Regions from separate parts of the Homo sapiens genome. Here regions 2, 3 and 4 are each linked to region 1. Evidence: promoter capture Hi-C in 16 types of primary human blood cells and fetal thymus (Javierre and others, 2016). All regions are on one chromosome and are shown on one strand. Each heading gives the region's core, a stretch centred on a gene start or on the middle of the fragment in contact. The rest is flanking DNA. Distances are from core to core; before and after follow the strand shown. Region 1 holds the start of ANKHD1 (ankyrin repeat and KH domain containing 1). Region 2 holds the start of DIAPH1-AS1 (DIAPH1 antisense RNA 1). Region 3 holds the start of HSPA9 (heat shock protein family A (Hsp70) member 9). Region 4 holds the start of DIAPH1 (diaphanous related formin 1).

Region 1 (5,109 bases), core at 853-3,352:
ACCTAGAATGATAAGACAGTATACTAACTGCAGTCTGTAACCCACAAATAATTTCTCCTTATTCCTCTCAAATCCAAGAGCCGGGATTGTTAGTACACACAGAGAAATTCCTGTACTTTAACACCAAGACCAGAGGTTAAAATAACTGGTCACAGGTGACAACTCAGGCACCTCAGAACCAAAATAGAAGAAATACTCTGAGCACTTAAAACAATCACGGTACAGTACTCTACGCAAGCCACAGTCAACAGAAAAAAGTATACACATAAAATACCGCCCCTTGGGATCACAAGGTCAGGAGATCGAGACCATCCTGGACATGGTGAAACCCTGTCTTTACTAAAAAATACAAAATATTAGCCGGGAGTGGTGGCACGCGCCTGTAGTCCCAGCTACTCAGGAGGCTAAGGCAGGGGAATCGCTTGAACCCAGGAGGCGGAGGTTGCAGTGTGCCGAGATCGCGCCACTGCACTCCAGCCTGGCGACAGAGCGAAACTCCATCTCAAAAAACAAAAACAAAACCCGCCCCTTTTTCCCCAGAACCCAAAAGAAGTTAATGCCTACCATCCCAGGTTGCTCAGACCTAAAAATGTGTACACATTAGAGTACACACAGAAGAGTTAAAGAAATGAAGGACTTCACTGCAAAGGCAGAGTGAAGGTGTCCAGCCGGGCACGGTGGCTCATACCTGTAATCCCAGCACTTTGGGAGGCCGAGGCGGGCGGATCACCTGAGGTCAGGAGTTCGAGACCAGCCTGACCAACATGGTGAAACCCCGTATCTAATAAAAATACAAAATTAGTCGGGCGTGGTGGCGCACGCCTGTAATCCCAGCTACTCGGGAGGCTGAGGCAGGAGAATCGCTTGAACCCGGGAGGCGGAGGTTGCAGTGAGCTGAGATCACGTGTATTCTAGCGTGGACAACAAGAGCGAAACTCCATCTCAAAAAAAAAAAAAAAAAAAAAAAAAAGAAGAGGTTTCCACAGGTTGCCCCACTTTCTCCAAGCCTAAAACCTCCGAGTTCAGCTACCCAGCTATTCCGAAGCTCAGGGATGCCCTGGAACTTCCTTTTCCTGTCTAACTTCACAAAAGGTCCCAGAAGGAGGAGTCACGTGATTTTTCAGGGTAAAAGCCGAGAGATCCCTAATACTCAAACCTGTCTCAAACTGAAGAGGGAGAATAAGAACCGTCCTTAAGCACACAGGTAAGACACACACAAGGCAGAAGGCAAATAAACGTATCCCTCAACTCTGAGGAGAGGCAAAGAAGAGAAACGATCTTTGCACCAGCTCTGTCTCTGTCTCTGTTTGTCTCTCTCAGTACCAAGGGCAGGGACTCTGGCAAGACCCCGCCCCCCACCCCCAACTCCAAAGCAGGGTGGGCGGGAGGCAGCCTGAGGAGTCCCTGTTCCCGCGCGAAGCTCAGAGACCAAAGGACTCCCTATTGTGGGTCTACGAATGGTGACGGGAACCTGTCCCGCTCGAGCTAAAGAGTAAGCCGAGGGCTCACTAGGCCCTCACCGCGGCCACCGCCGCCATGGAGCCGACCGCTGTCACAGAAGGGCTCCACCAGGGAAGCGGGAGGATGGCCCCGGCCCAGAGCCTACCCAAAGAGAATTCACGCCTCACAATGTGTGGGAGGCGAGGGTCCCGGAGCCTTACCTCGGACACTTCGTCCTCGTCACTGCCAGAGGCACCACCTCCACCCCCGGTCCTCAGCACGGCAGCCGCCAACTTGAAATCCAGCGCCGCGTCCCCTCCGCCCGTACCGCTGCCGCTGCCGCCGCCGCCGCTGCTGCCGACTCCCGACGCTGGCCCGGCCTCCCCAAAGAGCCTCACGGTGCGGATCCCCAGACCGACCCCTCCCGGCGGAGGCGGCTCCGAGGCCCCAGCTGGGGCGGATCGCGGAGCCACAGAGTCCAGGTCCTCCTCAAAGGAGGTGCCGCCGCCTCCGCTATCAGTCAGCATTGTTCGCACCCGGAGCCGGAGACGGTGCCGACCCACTCGCGGTCACCGCCGCCGCTGATCTCGGGAACGAGAAGAGCAGCAAGAGGAAGAAGCGTCTCCTTTCCCCCGTCCCAGCAGCGCCACTAACTTCTCACTGCCTAACCTGCTGCCTCCCGCCCCCTCGACTCGCCACTGGCTGCAATACCCTGGCGGCTGCAGATCATTGGCCAAAGTGACCCGTCGCTCAGGCTCTTCGTCACGCGCCGCTCGCTGGCTCGCAGCCGCCAAGCTGCGTTGACCCGCGCAGGCCTAGGCGGTTGCGAACACCCGCCTCCCACTCTTCACCAGCTGACTTCCGCTCTTTTCCTATGTCTATTGGCCAACCCGCCTGACTATCGCGTCACGACCTTAAAGTGGATTAGTTGGCCTTGTGGTCAGTCATAGTGACCCCGAACAATGGGAGAATTCATTGGCGCCATAAAGTGTCGGTCACTTTGTCGCGGGACGTCGCGTGGTACAATTGGCCTGTGGGAGTACCATTGATCCCGCCCTCATCTGAGGTGACGGGAAAGGGCCGGGAAATTTCCACTTCTGAATAAAATGACTGCTGAAGTGATGACCCGCAAGAATTGGTCAAATTTGGAGTAGACTTCACCCTGCGCTTGGTGAAACTTCTACGTCAAGGATGCAAGAGGCGCCGAAGTAACGCAGCTCCCACCTGTCGCTCTCCGCTGGGCGCCGAGACTATGGCCGGAGAATAGCTGCACCGGGATTGGAGAAAGGAAGCCATCAGTCTTAGGAAGGCTCCACCTTCCTGCCATTGCCTGGTTGGAGGAGCGTAGCGTCAGTCACTAGAGCAGTCACCACCTCTGGGACAGGTGAAGATGTGTAACCTATTTGCCGGGGGCTATTTGGGAGGGAATAGAGGACGGGGAGCGATGAGGGGACAGTCGAGGGGCAAGGCCGATCTCGCTTCGCGCCTCCCGCCTTTCTGAGTTGAGCCTAGCGCGCGGGTCTGAGGGACATCCGGGGAGCTGCTTGGGATGGCCGCCTTGGGGAGACTCGACCCGCCCGCCAGGACCCGGCCGCGCGCCGCAGTTCGGGCGCCTTCGGGCAGGATCGCCCAGCGGGGCCGCGTTCTCCTGCTTGCGGACGGCTGCGGGCCTGAGGGCTGGACAGCGCCATGCCTCAGTACCGGGAACTGTCCCACGTAGGAAGGTGGGAATGCCGCGAACGGCGTGCGGAATCCGACCTCAAGGTGGAACGGGGTGGTGAAGAGTGCATGCTCCGAGGCAGTTTCGAGTTCTGGTGCTGCCACTTACTTGCTGCCTGACTTCGGCGCGTTTGCTGTTTCATTTTTGTGACTTTCAACTCGCTCCTCTGTGAAATGGGAGTAATATTAGTACCTTCCTCATTGGGTTGTTGTTATGAATAAATTAGATGATAATATAGCGCTTAGCAAAGTCCCAAACTTACAGGAAAGACTCATTTTTGCTAGTTATTGTCTCCTCTTCCTTCAGGAACTCTCTGCTCGCCCCTGGGTCCTGCCAGCCCAACTAATTCTAGTTCTAATCAGATCTGTGTGGTGCAAAACAAGGCTAGCTGTGGTGGTCTTCCCTCCTCTAAGGAGATCTCTTCCTCCCTATATGCATCTCTCTATCTCTGTCTTTATCTTGTCAGTAAAGAGGGGGGTTAAAAATATTCAGATTCTATAGCGGGCGCCGTGGCTCACGCCTGTAATCCCAACACTATGGGATGTTGAGGCGGGCGGATCATTTGAACCCAGTAGTTCGAGCCCAGCCTAGGCAACATGGTGAAATCCCGTCTTTACCAAAAATACAAAAATTGGGCTCGGCGCGGTGACTCACGCCTGTTAATCCCAGCACTTTGGGAGGCCTAGGTGGGCGGATCATTTGAGGTTAGGAGTTCTAGACCAGCCTGGCCAACATGGCGAAACCCCGTCTATACTAAAAATACAAAAATTAGCCAGATGTGATGGTGCGTGCCTGTAATCCCAGCTACTCGGGAGGCTGAGGCAGGAGAATCACTTGAACCCAGGAGGCGAAGTTTGCAGTGAGCCAAGATCGTGCCACTGCACTCCAGGTTAGGCGACAGAGCAACACATCGTCTCAAAAAAAAAAAAAAAATTAGCCGAGCATGGTGGTGCATGCCTGTAATTCCAGCTACTCAGGAGGCTGAGGTGGGAGGGATCCCCTGAGCCTGGGAGATGGAGGTTGCAGTGAGCCGAGATCGTGCCACTGAACTCCAGCCTGAGCAACAGAGCGGTGCCCTGTCTAAAAAAATTAAAAAAATAAAAAAAAAACGGTTTCTATCTAATCCTTTAATCAGACATGACCAAAAAAGGAGTCTGGTGGTTTGTATGGAAAATATCCTTTGACCCAGAGAATGTCCATATGATAACAGAATTTGGCTGAAAAAAAAAAAAATGGCCGGGCGCAGTGGCTCACACCTGTAATCCCAGCACCTTGGGAGGCAGAGGTGAGCGGATCACGAGGTCAGGAGATGGAGACCATCCTGGCCAACATGGTGAAACCCCGTCTCTACTAAAAATACAAAAATTAGCCAAGTGTGGCGGCGCGTGCCTGTAATCCCAGCTACTCGGGTGGCTGAGGCAAGAGAATCGCTTGAACCCAGGAGGCGGAGGTTGCAGTGAGCCGAGATCGCACCACTGCACTGCAGCCTGGCGACAGAGCAAGACTCAGTCTCAAAAAAAAAAAAAAAAAGTCATTTTCTCCTCTCTTACAACTTTAACAAAGGCCTTTATATATCTCAACTGTGCAATATTTAATATTTCGTCATCCTTAAACTGGGATCTTAAAATTTTATAAGAATATAATGATTTTTAAAATAACTTTAAAAGTTGATTCTGCCAAACATTTATTTAAAAAACATTTTGAATATCATAAACATTTCTTTGGCTTAGTAATTGCTCATTTTGACATTTCACATGTAAAGGATAGTGTTTTCTATGAGCAGAACATGTTTGTTAAATGTTCTTTCTAGATAATAAATAAGTTGTAGAAAATGTTAAAAAAAAGTCTTGTACCTATTCTAGAGAACTATTTTAATGTAAATGCTATGTACACTGGCTTTAGTTAGCATTTGTGGAACTTAATTAGCCTATATCCTCAGTGCTGTTAAG
Region 2 (4,975 bases), core at 2,306-4,805, 1.2 Mb before region 1:
GATGAATTGCTCTAGAACTTAGTGTCCTGTAACTGTTCCATGTATTAGAACTCTCGCCCATTGCCTTTGGAGCAGTGTGGAAGAATGCTTGTGATTCAGTGTTTGGTGGGAAAAGCAGGAAACAAATTATGTACACCTTATTACAATTGTTTCATATTAAAAACAAATGCATTAGTGAAAGATTAGAAGGGAATATACCAGACTACTGTAACAGAGATTTTGTTAGGGTACTACATACTTTCTCTTTTAATTTTTCTATAATGTGGTTATATTGTTTTTATAATGAAAAAGACACAGGGTTAAAAAGGAAATTTCAGTGTCTGACATGCTTGGAGAAGATTCTAGAGCACTTCTAGATTTCTAGAAGTACTTGGACCTGAGATTTCGTCTGCCAAGCCAAGTACTAGCATTCAGTTCTATAAAGCAAGTAACAGTATCCTTTACTTCACTCTTAACAGTTTCTTTTTGAAAAAACAGACTCCAATGTAAAAAAAAAAAAAACAAAACTCTTTTCACTTCTAAGTACCATTGGACAAGGGACCCCAGTGATATAACAGAAGGGCATTGGTAACCCCATTTCTGCAAGATGGGATGGAACCATTCTTTCCTCCTGATCCTACAATAACCCCAACTCTTCTTAGAGCCAGTGATTTCTTCTTTTAGATCTATTAGATGGGAAGATACGGCACTCTCCTGTGTGTGTGTTTGCATTTCTTTTAGCAAGAAAAACTGCAAAAATCCTTCCCAAGAATTTCCCGTTTTTCCTATTCTGCTTGCATTTTTCTTTTCGGCCACGGGGTGCGCGCAGTTGAGCTATTTTGGCTCAGGTTCCAGATTGTGAGGTCAGAGACTAGGGATTGGAGGAGAAGATCAGGTGACTTTCAGTAACAGAGATGGCGGTCCTCCCATCTCCACCCCTTCCCCCCCTCATCTTTCCCCACCCTTTCCTGGCTTCCACCTCAGGAACAAAGAAGGGAAAAAAACAGCAGTATGACGAAAACCAGCAGCTGTCTCTGCAGGCTCAGGCTGGGGGCTGGGAGTTTATTCCATCTGTTCTCTTTGTTCTGCTCTTACCCTGTTACTTCCCTTCCCAACCCTGAATAAAACAGAATATTTCTAGAATCCTTTGTTATGGAGAATGGTTTAGAATTCTGCAGTTTACTCAGTATTTATTTAGGTTAGCGTGGGTGAGATACAGCAGAGATTAAAACTGATCTGGAGCACCTAAAAAAAAGATGAAGGTACTTTGCCTTCTCATTCAGTCTTAAATTATGAATACCTATTTAATGTCAGATTTGTGACAGGGGATTATCAACTATTATTTCCAATTATCAAAACATTATTTCCATAATGCCTAATTGGTATTATCTTTGTTTTATAATTGAGAGATATAAAAGAGAATTAATATGTCCTTTGCTTGTTAAGATTTTATAGCAAGTAAACACCAAGCCAGAATTTGAGCCTAGATATATTGGGCTCAAATCCAGCACTTAGTGAAAGGGAGTGGCAAGAATGCAGGCATGTTGAGAGAAACCTCAGGTGCTTGCTTCCAGTGACTGACAGTGTAAAGTAACTGTGCTAGTGCTTCTTGATTTTTACCAGTGATTAGTGTCCTGATTTCTTCAACAAATAAATTTCAGGGGAAAAAATGAGATGGAGAGGAACATATAGATTAAGAGGGAATTTTAAATTTTATCAACCAGTACAGTATATGGAACTTATTTAGATCTTGATCCAAATGAACTATACAAAACACTTGACAGTTGAGACAGCTGGAAATTAGTGTGATAATGGTTTCATGGCATTTTTTAAAAAGTCATCATCTTTTAGAGATGTGTACAGAAATAATTGCGGATCATTATGGGATTTAGAAGTGGGGTGTAGATGAAACAGAATTGGTCACGAGTGGATAACTGTTGAAACTGAGTGATGTATGCATGGGGATTAATAATTGTGTTTTTGAATGTTTAATTTTTCCCATAATAAAACATTTTTTAATCCAGGAAAAGAGTTTTATTTCTAGTACCTTATTTTAATGCCTTTTCTTCTGCCCTCTAGCCTATTGTTTCCTTGCATAAACCTGTCCTCTTTGCTGACATACCTGAGTCCTTGTTTGGGATAGTGCCTGTCCTTCCAGTCCTTCCCCACCCACATCCTAGAAGCAGACCTCTTTTTAGCACTCCCTAATTGAGTCACCATCCTGGGTGTGCTGGGAAAGTATCTGTGGGAAACTCAATGACTATATTATCTGAAAGACCAAATGCTTGGTGAAGTGCCCAGATTTTTAATACTGCTTTTCTGCTACCCTTCCAGACTTATATCTGTCCCCTTCTTTATAACTCTCAGCATCTGGTTCTTCCTTTGGGATTCTGTGTGGCTTTGTTCTTGTCCTTTAGGTTTGTTCATTAATGCCAGTTTGCCCTGTCCCTCCTTACAGCTTGCACATCTGTAATGGTCTAGTTCTGTGGGATTTTGCAGATAGTTGTATATTTTGGCCAAGGTATCAGTGATACGGTTACCTTTGGGCAGGGATAACTGCTATTCGGTTGGCATGATATTTTTTCCTTCTATAATGTATACCTTAGTGATTGTTTTAAAGTGCTGAATTTATCCCTTATGTATATTACAACCATGAAGAATATAAATCAGAAGTCCTCCATTTGGGCAGCTTCTTATATTAACACTTATATTAACATTAAGACCCTCTTACTGTCTCCTCTTCCCAGAATTAGAGAGTTGATGTAGTGCTTAATAGACATGGCTTATTGTATGCTAGGTGAACTTGGCAATTCCATAGCTATGTTACCCTCACAGAAAGTTATTTCCTGGAGAGATTATTAAGTGTTCTGATCTTTCATATATGCCTGAGAGATCTAAGATTCTTCCACAAAGACCCTATTTCTTCAGAGAAAACTATAGTGATGCCAGAGTCTTTTTTTTTTTTTTTTTAACAACTTGTGATTTTTGTGCACCTGTGTTGTATGTGTTGCCATTATCTCACTTTAGGGACGTTGGATAAACTGGCGTATTTGTGCAGCCTCATTTAAGTAGTGGCAACCATTAATGACTTGTACCCACAAGTTTTTCCAGATAATTTCTGTTTTTTCCACCTTTCTTACATGTTCTTTTTTAGTCATAGGTACTTGGCTTACTCAAGGGAGGTGTAGCGTAAGATAAAGATAATGGAGGGTGTTCCCTGTAGAATAGGTACAAATGCTGCAGGCTTTATCTTGGGCAGAGCAAGTAGGGTTTTGGTCCTGAGTAAGTGAGTGAGGTTAGGTGGAGCTGCCTGTCTTCCAGCCGTGCGGATACAACTGACTCAGTCCGTGTTCTCAACAGTTTTTGAAAAGCCCATTTTTCTATCCCACTTACTCCCACCTGCAGTTCTTTAAGAACGTAGTTTCCAGGATGTCAGGCAACTCCCCACTCCTCCATTTCCTGTTTGTGGTCTTCATTGAGAGACGCCTTAAACAGGAATTCCTGGGGAAGTGCAGGCTATAGCGGTGGGATTCCGGGGGTCATTAGTCCATTATTGAAGCTGGGGAATCATGTACTATAAAAGGACCTCCCTTCCGTTCTGTTGTCTCCTAGAAACTATTACTGATCATAACCAAGCAGTAACTGCAACTCAGGGCTGTTGACTTGTGCCCTTTGTCTTTAGAGACTGAAAATTATTTTCCCTTCTTGTGCCTCAGTTTCTATTAGTTGAATTTTAGAGCTCAACATCAAGATTTGTGACAAAATTAACTTGGACTCTGTAGGACTGATTCGTTTGAAATGCAAAAGTAGTGAAGAACATAAAACAGACTCCCTATCTTGGCCGCCAGGGGGTGCCCTTTCCCTTCGCTTTACTGTCTGGCACTCCCCACCGCATTCAGCCATTTTAGACAGATTGTTTTTGCTCCCAGCTAACTCCATTTTGTATTTGTGACGCAGGAATAAAAAAAGGAGTTAGGCAAAGGAGGAGTCTGGTTTGCAGAGGGAGGGAGACTGGCTGAGGCGCAGCTACGTACTCTTTTACTCAGCAGTTGCTCATCAGGGACACACCTTGCTGCAGGCTGCCTGCATCCTGAGCAATCGATGCCGCAAGTCCTTGCCAGCGGAGCACAGAGCAAAATGGTTTGGCTGCCGGACACCTACTAACAGTGACAGAGTGCTAGCTTTTGAGGCAGCAGGCCAGGGCATCCCCTCTGCCTCATCTAGACTCTAATCCTGGGTTTAGGTGTTTTTGCTACAGAGATGTTTAGGGCAGTTTTCTTAATTATAGGATCAGATAAGAAAAGATACCCCCAAAAAAAGAAGAAAAAAAGGAACCCCTTTCACTTAGCTGTCTGGGAAGAATCAAATGCCCCAAGGACTCTAGGGAAATGGTCCTGAATTTTTTTAAAAAATGTTATTTTTGAAACCGTGAAAAAAATGCACGCACACATACACACATATATGTAAAGAGACTAGTATGAACACCCCTATGTCCATCACCCATTTAAAAAACTTAATCAACAGCTAGTCTTGTTTCATATACCTGTATCAACTTTGTCTTTGCCACCCATTATTTTTACATGTATCCTTGTTCATATTATTTAATCCTTAAGCAGTTCAGAATGTGTGTCAAAAAAATTAGGACTTTTAAAAGAAGATAATTACTACCATTATCACATTTAAAAAATTCTTTATCATCAGATAGCCAGTTAGTATTAAATTTCCCAAATTATCTTATGATAGTTGTTTTTTTTAATAGTTCATTTGAATCAGAGCCAAATAAAGTCTACACATTGCAGTTGGTTGATGTCTCTATAGGTTCTCTCTTATGCTCTTTTTTATTTTTTATTTTGCAATTTATTTATAGACTTAATTTCTTTTAAAAAGATCTCTGCCAGGCGCGGTGACTCACGCCTGTAATCCCAGCACTTTGGGAGGCCGAGGCGGGCGGATCACGTGAGGTTGGGAGTTTGAGACCAGCCTGGCCAATATGGCG
Region 3 (5,757 bases), core at 1,644-4,143, 1.8 Mb after region 1:
CCACCCGCCTCAGCATCCCAAAGTGCTGGGATTACAGGCGTGAGCCACCACGCCCGGCCGCATCTTTCTTTTCTCTCTTTCTCTTTCCTTCCTTTCCTTATTTCCTTTTCTCCTTCCTTCTTTCCCTCCTTCCCTCCCTCCTTCCTTCCTTTCTCCTTTCTTTCTGTTTTTTTGTTTTTTGTTTTTTTTAATGTCTCGCTGTGTCACCCAGACTGGAGTGAAATGGCACAATCATAATCACGACTCACTGCAGCCTCGACCTCTCTTGGCTCAGGTGATTCTTCCACCTCAGCCTCCCGAGTAGCTGGTAGCTGGGACTACAGGTGCACCACCATGCCCGGCTAATTTTTTGTAGAAATGGGGTTTTGCCATGTTGCCCAGGCTGTTCTCAAATTCCTGAACTCAAGTGATCCTCCCACTCCAGCCTCCCAAGTAGGTGGGACTACAGGTGCTTGCTACCATGCCCAGCCAATTTAAAAAAAAAAAAAAAAAAAATTGGCCGGCCGCAGTGGCTCACGCCTGTAATTCCAGCATTTGGGATGCCGAGGCGGGCGGATCCCTTGAGTTCAGGAGTTGGAGACCAGCCTGGGCAACAAGGCGAAACCCCGTCTCTACGAAAAATACAAAAATTAGCCAGGCGTAGTGCCGCATGTCTGTAATCCCAGCTACTCGGGGGAGGGGGGCGCTGAGGCGGCACTGGAATCATCTGAGCCCAGAGAGGTGGAGGCTGCAGTAAGCTGAGACTGCACCACTACACTGCAGCCTGGGCGACAGAGGCTAAAGATGGAGTCTCACTCTGTCGCTCAGGCTGATCTCGAACTCCTGGGTTCAAGTGATCCTCCCACCTCGGCCTCCCAAAGTGCTGGGATTACAGGCGTGAGCCACCGCCTGGCCACCCCTGCCTTCTGAGAGAACTAAAAACAAGAGAAATGAAGTGTTAAGTAACTAGTGAGGATAATATAGTAATAGCTGACAGTTAAGAGTGTGTGGGAGGCTTTTTAAAAACTTTTAGAATCTATATAATCTATAACCCATGTTACGTTAGACTTTTGTTTATTTTCTTACTCCCACTGCCATCCTCCTCAGAATGTAAACTCTTCAGTTAGCTTCTTTCCCTCCCCAACTTTCCCCAACATTTCCTTCACAGTTCCTCACCCAGGGGTGACTACTTAATAATACAGATCTTCCTGAAGAGATAGGGGGTCTGAAACATTTCTCTTTTTTTGAAAGCGGGCTTCCAGGACAAATTGCTTCATCTCCAAAATCAAGTTCAATCTGTCATCAGCCATTCGTTCGTGTTTTGCTTTCGCTGTATTCCTACCACCTGGGAGAGTGACTGACACACGGTAGGCATGCCAAAACATATCTGTTGAATCAATTAATTCCTCTTCTTAAAAATCTAAAACTGGGTTGGGCGCGGTGGCTCACGCCTGTAATCCCAGCACTTTGGGAGGCCGAGGCAGGCAGATCACGAGGTCAGGAGATCGAGACCATCCTGGCCAACATGGTGAAACCCGGTGTCTACCAAAAATATAAAAATTAGCTGGGCGTGGTGGCGCGCGCCTGTAATCCCATCTACTTGGGAGGCTGAGGCAGGAGAATAGCTTGAACCAGGGAGTCAGAGGTTGCAGTGAGCCGAGATGGCGCCACTGCACTCAAGCCTGGCGACAAAGACTGCCTCAAAAAAAAAAACAAAAACCTAAAAACTGGTCACAGGGTAGTGAAGTAGTTGACATCCTGCCACCAGCACAAGGTTTAAAAAGGGCCAGAGGAGTCTCAAGTCAGGCCCAGCACAGTGGGGAGAGGAAGAGCCTGAAGCTCAGCTATTTTTCTTTTTTTTCTTGAGACGGAGTCTCGCTCTGTCGCCCAGGCTGGAGTGCAGTGGCGCGATCTCGGCCCACTGCAAGCTCCGCCTCCCGGGTTCACGCCGTTCTCCTGCCTCAGCCTCCCGAGTAGCTGGGACTACAAGCGCCTGCCACCACGCCCGGCTACTTTTTCGTATTTTCAGTAGAGACGGGGTTTCACCGTGTTAGCCAGGATGGTCTCGATCTCCTAACCTCGCGATCCGCTCGCTTCGGCCTCCCAAAAGTGCTGGGATTACAGGCGTGAGCGCCCGGCCAAGCTCAGCTATTTTTTTTTCCCTTTGTGCAGGCTAATTGGCCTAATGTTCTGTGTGAATCAAACGCTTCGTAGTTGGAAACCCAAGACCCCTGTGATAAAACGCAACACGAAATTGTTTAACGTCTGTCTGCATATCCAAGTGTCTTTCAAGTTGTGAACAACGGGCGGGACCAAACAACAAAAGTACTGACGTCCTCACTTCACAAAGCCACAAGACAAGATGGCGCCGTCCTCCAGGAGCGGGAGCTGGGAACACGTCCACGCCCGGGGGGTGTGCACGCGCCCGGGCTCGCCCCAGGGAACGCTGGCGTGCACTCGGGCACCCAGTGAGCGCCGCAGTTAGTCTCCACCCATGTTTTCCGCCACTCCTTGCGCACATGCGCTCTAGGTTCTTAGCTGGATGTCTGTTGCGCCAACAGGCTCCTCCTCCCGCGCAACTGACGCAAGAAGACTGTAATCGGTTCGCAATTTATCCCGTGTGACCTTGAGTCTTTCCTGTCGCCGAGGACCGGGGCTGTCCGAGATACGGCCTTCATATCCCTCTTCCTCCCCTGGACTCTTTCTGAGCTCAGAGCCGCCGCAGCCGGGACAGGAGGGCAGGCTTTCTCCAACCATCATGCTGCGGAGCATATTACCTGTACGCCCTGGCTCCGGGAGCGGCAGTCGAGTATCCTCTGGTCAGGCGGCGCGGGCGGCGCCTCAGCGGAAGAGCGGGCCTCTGGGCCGCAGTGACCAACCCCCGCCCCTCACCCCACGTGGTTGGAGGTTTCCAGAAGCGCTGCCGCCACCGCATCGCGCAGCTCTTTGCCGTCGGAGCGCTTGTTTGCTGCCTCGTACTCCTCCATTTATCCGCCATGATAAGTGCCAGCCGAGCTGCAGCAGCCCGTCTCGTGGGCGCCGCAGCCTCCCGGGGCCCTACGGCCGCCCGCCACCAGGTGAGGAACTGGGACCTTCCCGAATGGGGTCACGGCCTCGGGCCTTGGGCCTCGGGCTTCGCTGCGGCAGGCCGCGCGCCCTTTAGGGTTTGAATTCTCCAGTATAGGTCAGGCGGGAAGGAAGGTAACGGGCCTTCCATAGTTAGCGCTGCCGGGTCAAGATTTTGCCCAAGGTTTTGCCTCCGGCTTGGGCCCTGCTGAGTCACACCCCTCGCGATCTAGAGTGTCATTTCAAAATTACCAGGTAGTGGTCCTCATGGCCTGTTCTGTGGCTGAATGGAAAGGTTTGGCCTTGGGGGTGAGGGATGCAGTCTATTGGGAAAGCCACTATTTTCAGTTTTATTTTTGGCTCCTCTACAGAATACAGAGTGTGTAAGGATCCCGTTGATACGGTGAAATAAAATAAGAAAGCTCTGAGTCGGAACTCCAGTTTTCGTGCTTAGCAACATTTTCTCAAAATCTGTGGTGTAAGATTGTACTCGTTTGTTACTTCAGAAAAAAAAGCAGATCGTGGGGCGGAGAAAAGGCTATGGAGTGGTTACTTGTTTTCTAAAATAAAAGACAAATGCTTTAGAGAACAGGAATTGTATGTGGGCATTAAGGAAGGCTTGGAAGGAGCCTGAGGTTAAGTTGTAATAAAGGTCTTTTATCCTAGTGAAACGCCACTACTTTTCTTTTTTCTTTCAAAGACCCTTAGTAACTCTAGTTCTTTTAAACTAATTGCACGGCAAGGTAAGGGGAAGTGTTTTCCCCCAGGGGACATCTGGCAATGTCTGTGGATATTTTAGGTTGTCACTTACTTACTGGGGTGCTTATTGGTTTCTAGGGTGTCGAGGCCAGGGATGCTGCTGTATATCCTACAATGCACAGAACAGCCCCCACCACAAAAATTTCGCCCAAAATTAATAGCGCCACGGTTGAGAAATCCTACTGTAATGTGATTCTAAGGCCATCTTTTATTTACCTTTTTTCGTCTTACTTATTTGGGAAACTTTAATATTTACTGTTTTAGTAGCTTAATGTATTTTATATACTAAGTGAGCCCAAGTTTTCTCTTTTTCCTCCCAGGATACACACTGGTTGGTGACTGAGTCAGTTTTTTCTTTTTTAGGATAGCTGGAATGGCCTTAGTCATGAGGCTTTTAGACTTGTTTCAAGGCGGGATTATGCGTAAGTATAATATCATTTCCTTTGAGAGGGAATACATATTAAACTTCAAAGCAGTGTTTTCTACATTTGTGATTATTCTTCTCTGTAATTATTTATCTGTATTTATTTAGAGATTATGTAGTATACCACTGTTAATTTTCCAATTAAATATTATCTTCCAGTGACTTTGGTCTATCAAGATAACAATAGCTGTGACACTGTTCTAAATGTCTTACAGATCAGAAGCAATCAAGGGAGCAGTTGTTGGTATTGATTTGGGTACTACCAACTCCTGCGTGGCAGTTATGGAAGGTAAACAAGCAAAGGTGAGCATGATTGATAACTAGTACCTTATCCAGAATCTGTCCAGAATTCTGTGCTCTTTTCCTTAGTTAAGGAATTTGAGAACCTGATTTGCGCTTTTTTTTTTTTTTTTTTTTTTTTTTTGGAGACAGTCTCTATAGCCCATGGTGGAGTGCAGTGGCACGGTCTCCGCTCACTGCAACCTCTGCCTCCTGGGTTCAAACAGTTCTCCTGCCTTGGCCACATAGCTGGGATTACAGGCATGAACCACCATTCCTGGCTAATTTTTTGTATTTTCAGTAGAGACAGTTCCACTGTGTTGGCCAGGCTGGTCTTGAGCTCAAGTGATCCGCCCACGTTGGCCTCCAAAGTGCTGGGATTACAGATGTGAACCACTAAGCCTGGCCTCGAAGTACTTCCAACTAAAACAGCAAAAACATAACTATAGATCAGGGCTGACCGGGCATAATGGCTCACGCCTGCAGTCCCAGCACTTTGGGAGGCCAAGGGGGGTGGATTACCTGAGGTCCCAAGTTCAAGACCAGCCCGGCCAAAATGGTGAAACCCCGTCTCTACTAAAAATGCAAAAAATTGGCCGGGTACAGTGGCTCACACCTGAAATCCTAGCACTTTGGGAGGCCAAGGCGGGTGGATCACAAGGTCAAGAGATCGAGACCATTCTGGCCAACATGGTGAAACCTGTCTCTACTAAAAATACAAAAATTAGCTGGGCGTAGTGGCACACACCTGTAGTCCCCGCTACTCGGGAGGCTGAGGCAGGAGAATCGCTTGAACCCAGGAGGTGGAGGTTGCAGTGAGCCAAGATCACATCACTGTACTCCAGCCTGGGTGACAGAGCGAGACTTTGTCTCAAAAAAAAAAAAAGAAGAGACTATAGATCAGGTTTTTCATACCCAATGTTGGGACAAGAATCTTTACTTCCACATGGAGAATTATATCTACTTCTAAGTTTTTTGGGGGGTTGGCCACAGATATCAGGCATATAGGAAAAATGCCAAGAAGCCCAAATTAGGGCCAAGAGAAGGAATAATCTCTTGGTGCCAAACAAGTGGGATAAGAAGACCATAGACAGTTCAGGTTATTTCAGAAGAGGAGATTGGGGGGAAAGGAAGTATGAAAGCAAAAGAGGCCATGAATGGAAGAAGCAAGAGTCAAGAATTCCAGGTGTTCTAAATCTTGCTAAGAACCCGGTGGGAATAAAGGTTGCATGTACAGAGTAAGGAGGCTT
Region 4 (5,601 bases), core at 2,321-4,820, 1.2 Mb before region 1:
GTGCAGTGGCTAATCCCGGCTCACTGCAACCTCCGCCTCCCAGGTTCAAGCGATTCTCCTGCCTCAGCCTCCTCAGTAGCTGAGATTACAGGCATGTGCCACCACACCCGGCTAACTTTAGTATTTTTAGTAGAGACGGGGTTTCACCATGTTGGCCAGGATGGTCTTGATCTCTTGACCTTGTGATCCACCTGCCTTGGCCTCCCAAAGTGCTGGGATTACAGGTGTGAGCTACCACGCCCGGCTTTTGAGAATACTTTTTCAAAAAGAAAGAAACCAATATTGAGTACCTGTTGGGCCCTGTTTTGCTTTCACATCCATTCTTTCACTATGGGTTTATAATACCACGTCACTCTTCTTAAAATTAAAACTCTCCTTTACCTTGCACTTAGAAGAAAATCCAAAATTTTGACTGTGGCTTAAAAAGGTCCTGCATGCTAGCCCTTACCTACATCCAGGATCTCATCTCTAACTACTCTCCTCCATGCACAGTGCTCCCGGCTGTCCTGGCCTCCTTGTTCTTACTGGAATACATCAGTCTCTTTCCATTTCATGACCTCTGTAGTTGGTTTTCTTGCAGCTTGGAATGGCCTTCCTGAAGTCTTTGCCTGCTTAGCTCCTCCTCAGACTTTAGGTCTTATGTCCCAATAGTCCTGTCTGAAATTTCACCCTTTTCCTCTCATCACCTTCAGTCCTATCACTTCATTTTATTAATTGTACTCTCCATCATCTGAAATTATTATATTTATTTACTTTGTTAGTTACTAGTCTCATTTATTAGGTAAGCTTTTTGAGGATAGACAACCTTGTCCAGCTTGTTACTCTACTGTATTGCTAAGGTTTATGACAGTGTCTGTATAGAGTAGTTCCTTAATGTTTATTTGATACGTGAATGGGTGAATGAATAGCAGTCTCTACCAACAAGAGGAGGAGTGGTTCTCAACGGGGCCTGAGAAATGGCTTTGGAAAAGGGTGCTGGGAGAAGATTAGAACTTAGAGTGAGATCCTGACCTCTCTCCCCTTGCTTTGCAGGCCAGAGGCACCCAATGAGTTCTATGATGGAGACCATGACAATGACAAGGAAAGCGATGTGGAGATTTAAGAGTGGCTTGGGATGCTGTGTCCCAAGGAATTTCTTTTCACCTCTTGGTTGGGCTGGAGGGAAAAGGAGTGGCTCCTAGAGTCCTGGGGGTCACCCCAGGGCTTTTGCTGACTCTGGGAAAGAGTCTGGAGACCACATTTGGTTCTCGAACCATCTACCTGCTTTTCCTCTCTCTCCCAAGGCCTGACAATGGTACCTATTAGGGATGAGATACAGACAAGGATAGCTATCTGGGACATTATTGGCAGTGGGCCCTGGAGGCCAGTCCCTAGCCCCCCTTGCCCCTTATTTCTTCCCTGCTTCCCTCGAACCCAGAGATTTTTGAGGGATGAACGGGTAGACAAGGACTGAGATTGCCTCTGACTTCCTCCTCCCCTGGGTTCTGACTTCTTCCTCCCCTTGCTTCCAGGGAAGATGAAGAGAGAGAGATTTGGAAGGGGCTCTGGCTCCCTAACACCTGAATCCCAGATGATGGGAAGTATGTTTTCAAGTGTGGGGAGGATATGAAAATGTTCTGTTCTCACTTTTGGCTTTATGTCCATTTTACCACTGTTTTTATCCAATAAACTAAGTCGGTATTTTTTGTACCTTTCGCCTTTCTAGGAATGTTAATTCTTGCTAGTTTCCTATTTATGAAAGGAGAGGGAAATGGGCATGATGATGCATGTAATAAAAGCATAGTTAACATTCATTCAGCACTTATCCTACGTTAGGCCCTGTGTATGTATTCTACATTTATTATTGTAAATATAAGAAGTTAATAGAGGATTTTGGTTAAGAGTTAGACAAACCTGGGCAGATTTGAGAGGAGTAGAAGATGACTTCAGGTTTTTGAATCTGGGTGTTTAGAGTAGTGATGCTAGTTGGTGAAGATACACTGAGATAAAACATGTTAAGTGCTTAGCACAGTGCCTGACAGAAGAAGTTGCCCATTATCTGTCTATGTGAAGAACAATGCTAAATACTGTAGTAGCCACAAACATGAACCTTTCTCTAGAAGAGTTTACATTCCAGTCAGTAGTATGATAAATATTGTAGCAGATACAGACTGATACAAGAAAGAGGACTGATAGATGGGTCACTTCCTCCCCTCCATTCTCTGATTCTGTCTGTTCTCAACACTAGCTTAGAAAGTAGCTTTTGGACTTTTTAGACAAAATGTCTGGAAAGCTCAGCACTAAGTCAAGTTTGAAGTATGGGATGGACAGCTCTATGTAACATTCTATCCGATCACCATCAGAAGGTCTGGACCACAAGAGAGATGAATGCCAAATTTAGGAGCCAGCCAGCTTGGCAGAGTCCCTGGTATATCTCAGGCCCTTGACTAGGTACTGGGGCTCTAGAGTAAGTAAGTCACTGACTCTGCCCTTCAGGAACTTATGCTTGAAATCTTGCTAGCTGTGGTCAAGAATATTCAGTCCATATTGTGAAGGCCGACTGGTAGCCACGTAACTGTCACACAAGGGACAGATGTAGCTGGGAGAATGGATGAAATTGCTTAGGGAGAAAGTCATGCTAGAAGAGCAAAGAATATACTCTTGGAGAATACTCATTCTTTTCACTCATGTTTGGTTTATGTCAGTGGGGAATCCTGGTTAAACATAGGGTTTGGCAGCAAATCAGACTAAGCTGGGTTTAAATTTTATATCAATTATGCGTTCTTGGGCAAGTCACTTCAACTCTCAAAAGTCCAAATTTACTATTTATAAAATGGTGAGGCTAGCAGAATCTATCACATGGGACTGTGGGGACTTAGAAAAATACATGTAGAGTGTTTGCCTAGTGCCTAGCAGAGAGCAAAGGGCATGGTTAAGTGGTAACTGTTATTGCTGTTTAGGCACATGTTGGCAATAATTAGTTTGTCCTGATTAGAAACAATTAGATGGTACCTAACCTGGAATTCGAACTAGGAAATTAAACTCCAGAGCGAGTCTGGTTTAGTCTAGTGCTTGCCCTGGACCGAGCTCTGTTCTTGCTACCTTGCTTTCAAAACATGGTGGCTATCACTATAATTTTTTTCATGTGTTCCATGGGTATTGCACACATTGAAAACTGCATTCTCTTGGAAAACCTGTCACTAATTTTCTGCCAGGATAATGGTCTCACGCGATTTTTGGTCTGGGATGTGAGAGGGTCCAGGCTGTCAGGCTGTACAGCCACGTGGGCGCTGCGTGGGAGCCAGAGGCCTGCGCTGCTCCAACCGCCAGGGGGCGGTGCTCTCCGCCGCGGCCGCGGAGAGCTGCACCGCCCACTCACCACCCCCCCCCACGTGGGTCCGAATGGTTAGGTCCGCTGGGCAGGTAGCGCGCTTCCGCGGCTTCCCTCCGCCCCTCTCCCTTCCCCCATTGGTAGGGGCTGCGGGTCCGGGCGGAAGTGGGGCAGGCGGGCGGGAGCGAGGCGTCGTCGTTGTATATTCATGAGGCGCGCGCAGCCCGGCATGCTAATGAGGCGGGGCGCGGCGGCTGGCTAAAGAGCGACTGGGCGGCGGCGGGCGCGGAGCTGCCAGGCGGGAGCGGCGTAGGCGCGGGGTCGCCGGCCAGCGTGAACCGGGACATGGAGCCGCCCGGCGGGAGCCTGGGGCCCGGCCGCGGGACCCGGGACAAGAAGAAGGGCCGGAGCCCAGATGAGCTGCCCTCGGCGGGCGGCGACGGCGGCAAATCTAAGAAATTTGTGAGTGTCCCTCCCATCCCGCTCCTGCCTGGCCCCGTAACCGCCCTCTGGACCCCTGCAGCCGGCCCCTGGGGCGCCTGCCCGGCTTTGGGGAGCCGCCCCCGCGCCTTCCTTCCTCGTTTCGCTCGGTCCGCAGCTCTGCAGCCCGACATCCTCTCCCTTCGGGACCTCGGGAAGCCCCGGAATCCCACCCGGCTCTTGCCCCGGCCACCTCGGGGCTTCCCTCGTTCCCCAGCCCTTACATTCTGCCCTCCCGCCCGCATATCCCCGGCCGGCTCTCAGCCCCGTCTCTCCCCTCTCAGCCTCACTTCCTTTCTTCTTCCTCCAGTACCCGAACACGCCTCCTCTTTTTTGGTCCCCTCTTCTGGGTCCATTTTCTCTTCTTAACCTTACACCTTTTTTGGTATTCTCGTATTTCCTTCTCCTAAAGGTCACTTCCTTCTCCATGATTCATCCTTTTTACCTGCTAACTTTCCTCCCGCCCAGTCCCCCGTGGGCCCTCCGCCCGGTGTCACTTGATAATCCTTCCCCTGAGGAATGTTACCTGACTTGAGCCCTACCCCCAACTCCTTCTTTGGACGTTTGTCCTTGCGATTACAGGAATGGGCTCCTGCCCAGGTCCTATGGTCACTGGGGCATGACGTTTATTTGTTTACCAGTATTCCTCTCTCCAGAGAACCTCTCTCTTTGCCCTGTTGCTTATCACTTTTCAGAGGATTAGAACTCTCATGATTGTGCCCTTCTTGACCTAGGATGGTGATAAACCTCTCCTGTGGGAAGAAAGTTGGACTGCGAGTTCAAGAAGTTTGTAATTGAATTGTTTTTTATACATTTCCCATGATAACCGTCTCCTCTACTCCTTTTCTACTGCCTCTTGTGCCCCAAGGCGACTATCGGCTTCCCTTTGCGTGCCTGTAGAAGAGTAAGCTTTCCTCAAGTGCCAGTTACTTTCAATCCGAGTGAAGGAATAGTGATATACATGTAACCCTATCATATTTCATTACCTTTTGCCCACACCAACGCCTCTCTCCAGGGAGCCGTTTGGTTGCTTTTTTGCTATAAAAGCTTTGTAAGATACGGGGCACTGTCCAGGAGAGGAAAAGTCTTGGATATTGATGATCATTATAATAGCTAGTTATAACTGTAGCTCTTTTGTCTTCTCTTCCAGGTATTTATGCCCTTACACTAGTGTATCTTTCTACTAAACAAATGGCTTGTAACTCTTAGTCCCACCTCCCAACATTTTGACCCAGCTCCACAAATTTGGGAAGAAAACTGATAAAGCGATGGAAACAGGAAGAAAATGTTGTTTTATGACCTAGAGGGTTGAGATGTTAACCCTGGAGGGTTAGATGTTTAATTCTAAATAGAATTAAAATAGTGACTCATCTCTTCCTATTTCTAGCAAGACCAAGTGCTCCTGGACTGCCCTTTCCAGTGATATCTGAGATGTCAGTAACCATCTGTTTTTATCTGGTGAACATCTTTTTTTCCCCCCCTAGAAATATAAGGTTAAGGGTATTGACACCCCCTCCTTCTTTGGTGACTAAAGCAGCATTTTTGTATGTTTCTTTAGGATAAGAATTGACCCCTCCCCCCCGTTAGCTTTCCTTCCAAAACTTAAGTTCTAGGGCTCATATTCCTTCTATTTCTGTATCTTTTTGTTTTGATTTTATTTCCATGAGTACTGTTTGACCTTCCTCACCCAAATTCCAGCTATTGCTGCTGACTTGTGGTGACCTCAGTGACTTGTTTTCATGTCTTGAGTAGAATTTTATATGTACTCTATTTTATCTAACAATTATTTCACGAACTTGTGAAGTCTACTA

The links. The method cuts DNA at HindIII sites, captures the fragments that hold promoters and counts their contacts. A CHiCAGO score of 5 or more calls a contact.
Region 2: a contact is called between the fragment with the promoter of DIAPH1-AS1 here and the fragment with the promoter of ANKHD1 in region 1, in 3 of 17 cell types (neutrophils, M0 macrophages and total CD4 T cells). The highest score is 11.5, in neutrophils.
Region 3: the fragment with the promoter of HSPA9 here is called in contact with the fragment with the promoter of ANKHD1 in region 1 in 1 of 17 cell types (total B cells); the score reaches 7.1 in total B cells.
Region 4: a contact is called between the fragment with the promoter of DIAPH1 here and the fragment with the promoter of ANKHD1 in region 1, in 1 of 17 cell types (fetal thymus). The highest score is 5.9, in fetal thymus.

The regions. Positions count from the first base shown.
Region 1 is chr5:140,398,826-140,403,934 of GRCh38, reverse strand. It overlaps ANKHD1 (ankyrin repeat and KH domain containing 1), which reads right to left and starts at 2,102. Exons shown (of 34, transcript NM_017747.3): 1 at 1,662-2,102. The coding sequence starts at 1,967. It overlaps ANKHD1-EIF4EBP3 (ANKHD1-EIF4EBP3 readthrough), which reads right to left and starts at 2,102. Exons shown (of 36, transcript NM_020690.6): 1 at 1,662-2,102. The coding sequence starts at 1,967. It overlaps ANKHD1-DT (ANKHD1 divergent transcript), which reads left to right and starts at 2,534. Exons shown (of 2, transcript NR_186045.1): 1 at 2,534-2,824. RefSeq lists enhancers at 1,899-2,788, 2,979-3,028, 3,119-3,268, 3,359-3,508. The HindIII fragment of the contact is 10,874 bases long and covers 1-5,109 here.
Region 2 is chr5:141,556,891-141,561,865 of GRCh38, reverse strand. It overlaps DIAPH1-AS1 (DIAPH1 antisense RNA 1), which reads right to left and starts at 3,555. Exons shown (of 3, transcript NR_038333.1): 1 at 3,379-3,555; 2 at 1-64. The region is part of intron 18 of DIAPH1 (diaphanous related formin 1); the gene reads left to right. RefSeq lists enhancers at 3,670-3,964, 3,725-4,577. The HindIII fragment of the contact is 6,603 bases long and covers 1-4,975 here.
Region 3 is chr5:138,572,537-138,578,293 of GRCh38, reverse strand. HSPA9 (heat shock protein family A (Hsp70) member 9) reads left to right here and starts at 2,893. Exons shown (of 17, transcript NM_004134.7): 1 at 2,893-3,056; 2 at 4,168-4,226; 3 at 4,444-4,531. The coding sequence starts at 2,976. All of the region lies in intron 1 of LOC105379193 (a long non-coding RNA gene), which reads right to left. RefSeq lists enhancers at 2,299-2,438, 2,016-2,664, 2,579-2,858, 3,099-3,148, 2,665-3,312. The HindIII fragment of the contact is 10,827 bases long and covers 1-5,757 here.
Region 4 is chr5:141,616,969-141,622,569 of GRCh38, reverse strand. DIAPH1 (diaphanous related formin 1) reads left to right here and starts at 3,570. Exons shown (of 28, transcript NM_005219.5): 1 at 3,570-3,772. The coding sequence starts at 3,656. HDAC3 (histone deacetylase 3) reads left to right here. Exons shown (of 15, transcript NM_003883.4): 15 at 1,033-1,689. The coding sequence ends at 1,102. RefSeq lists silencers at 3,216-3,875, 3,936-3,985, 3,796-3,992. The HindIII fragment of the contact is 3,913 bases long and covers 789-4,701 here.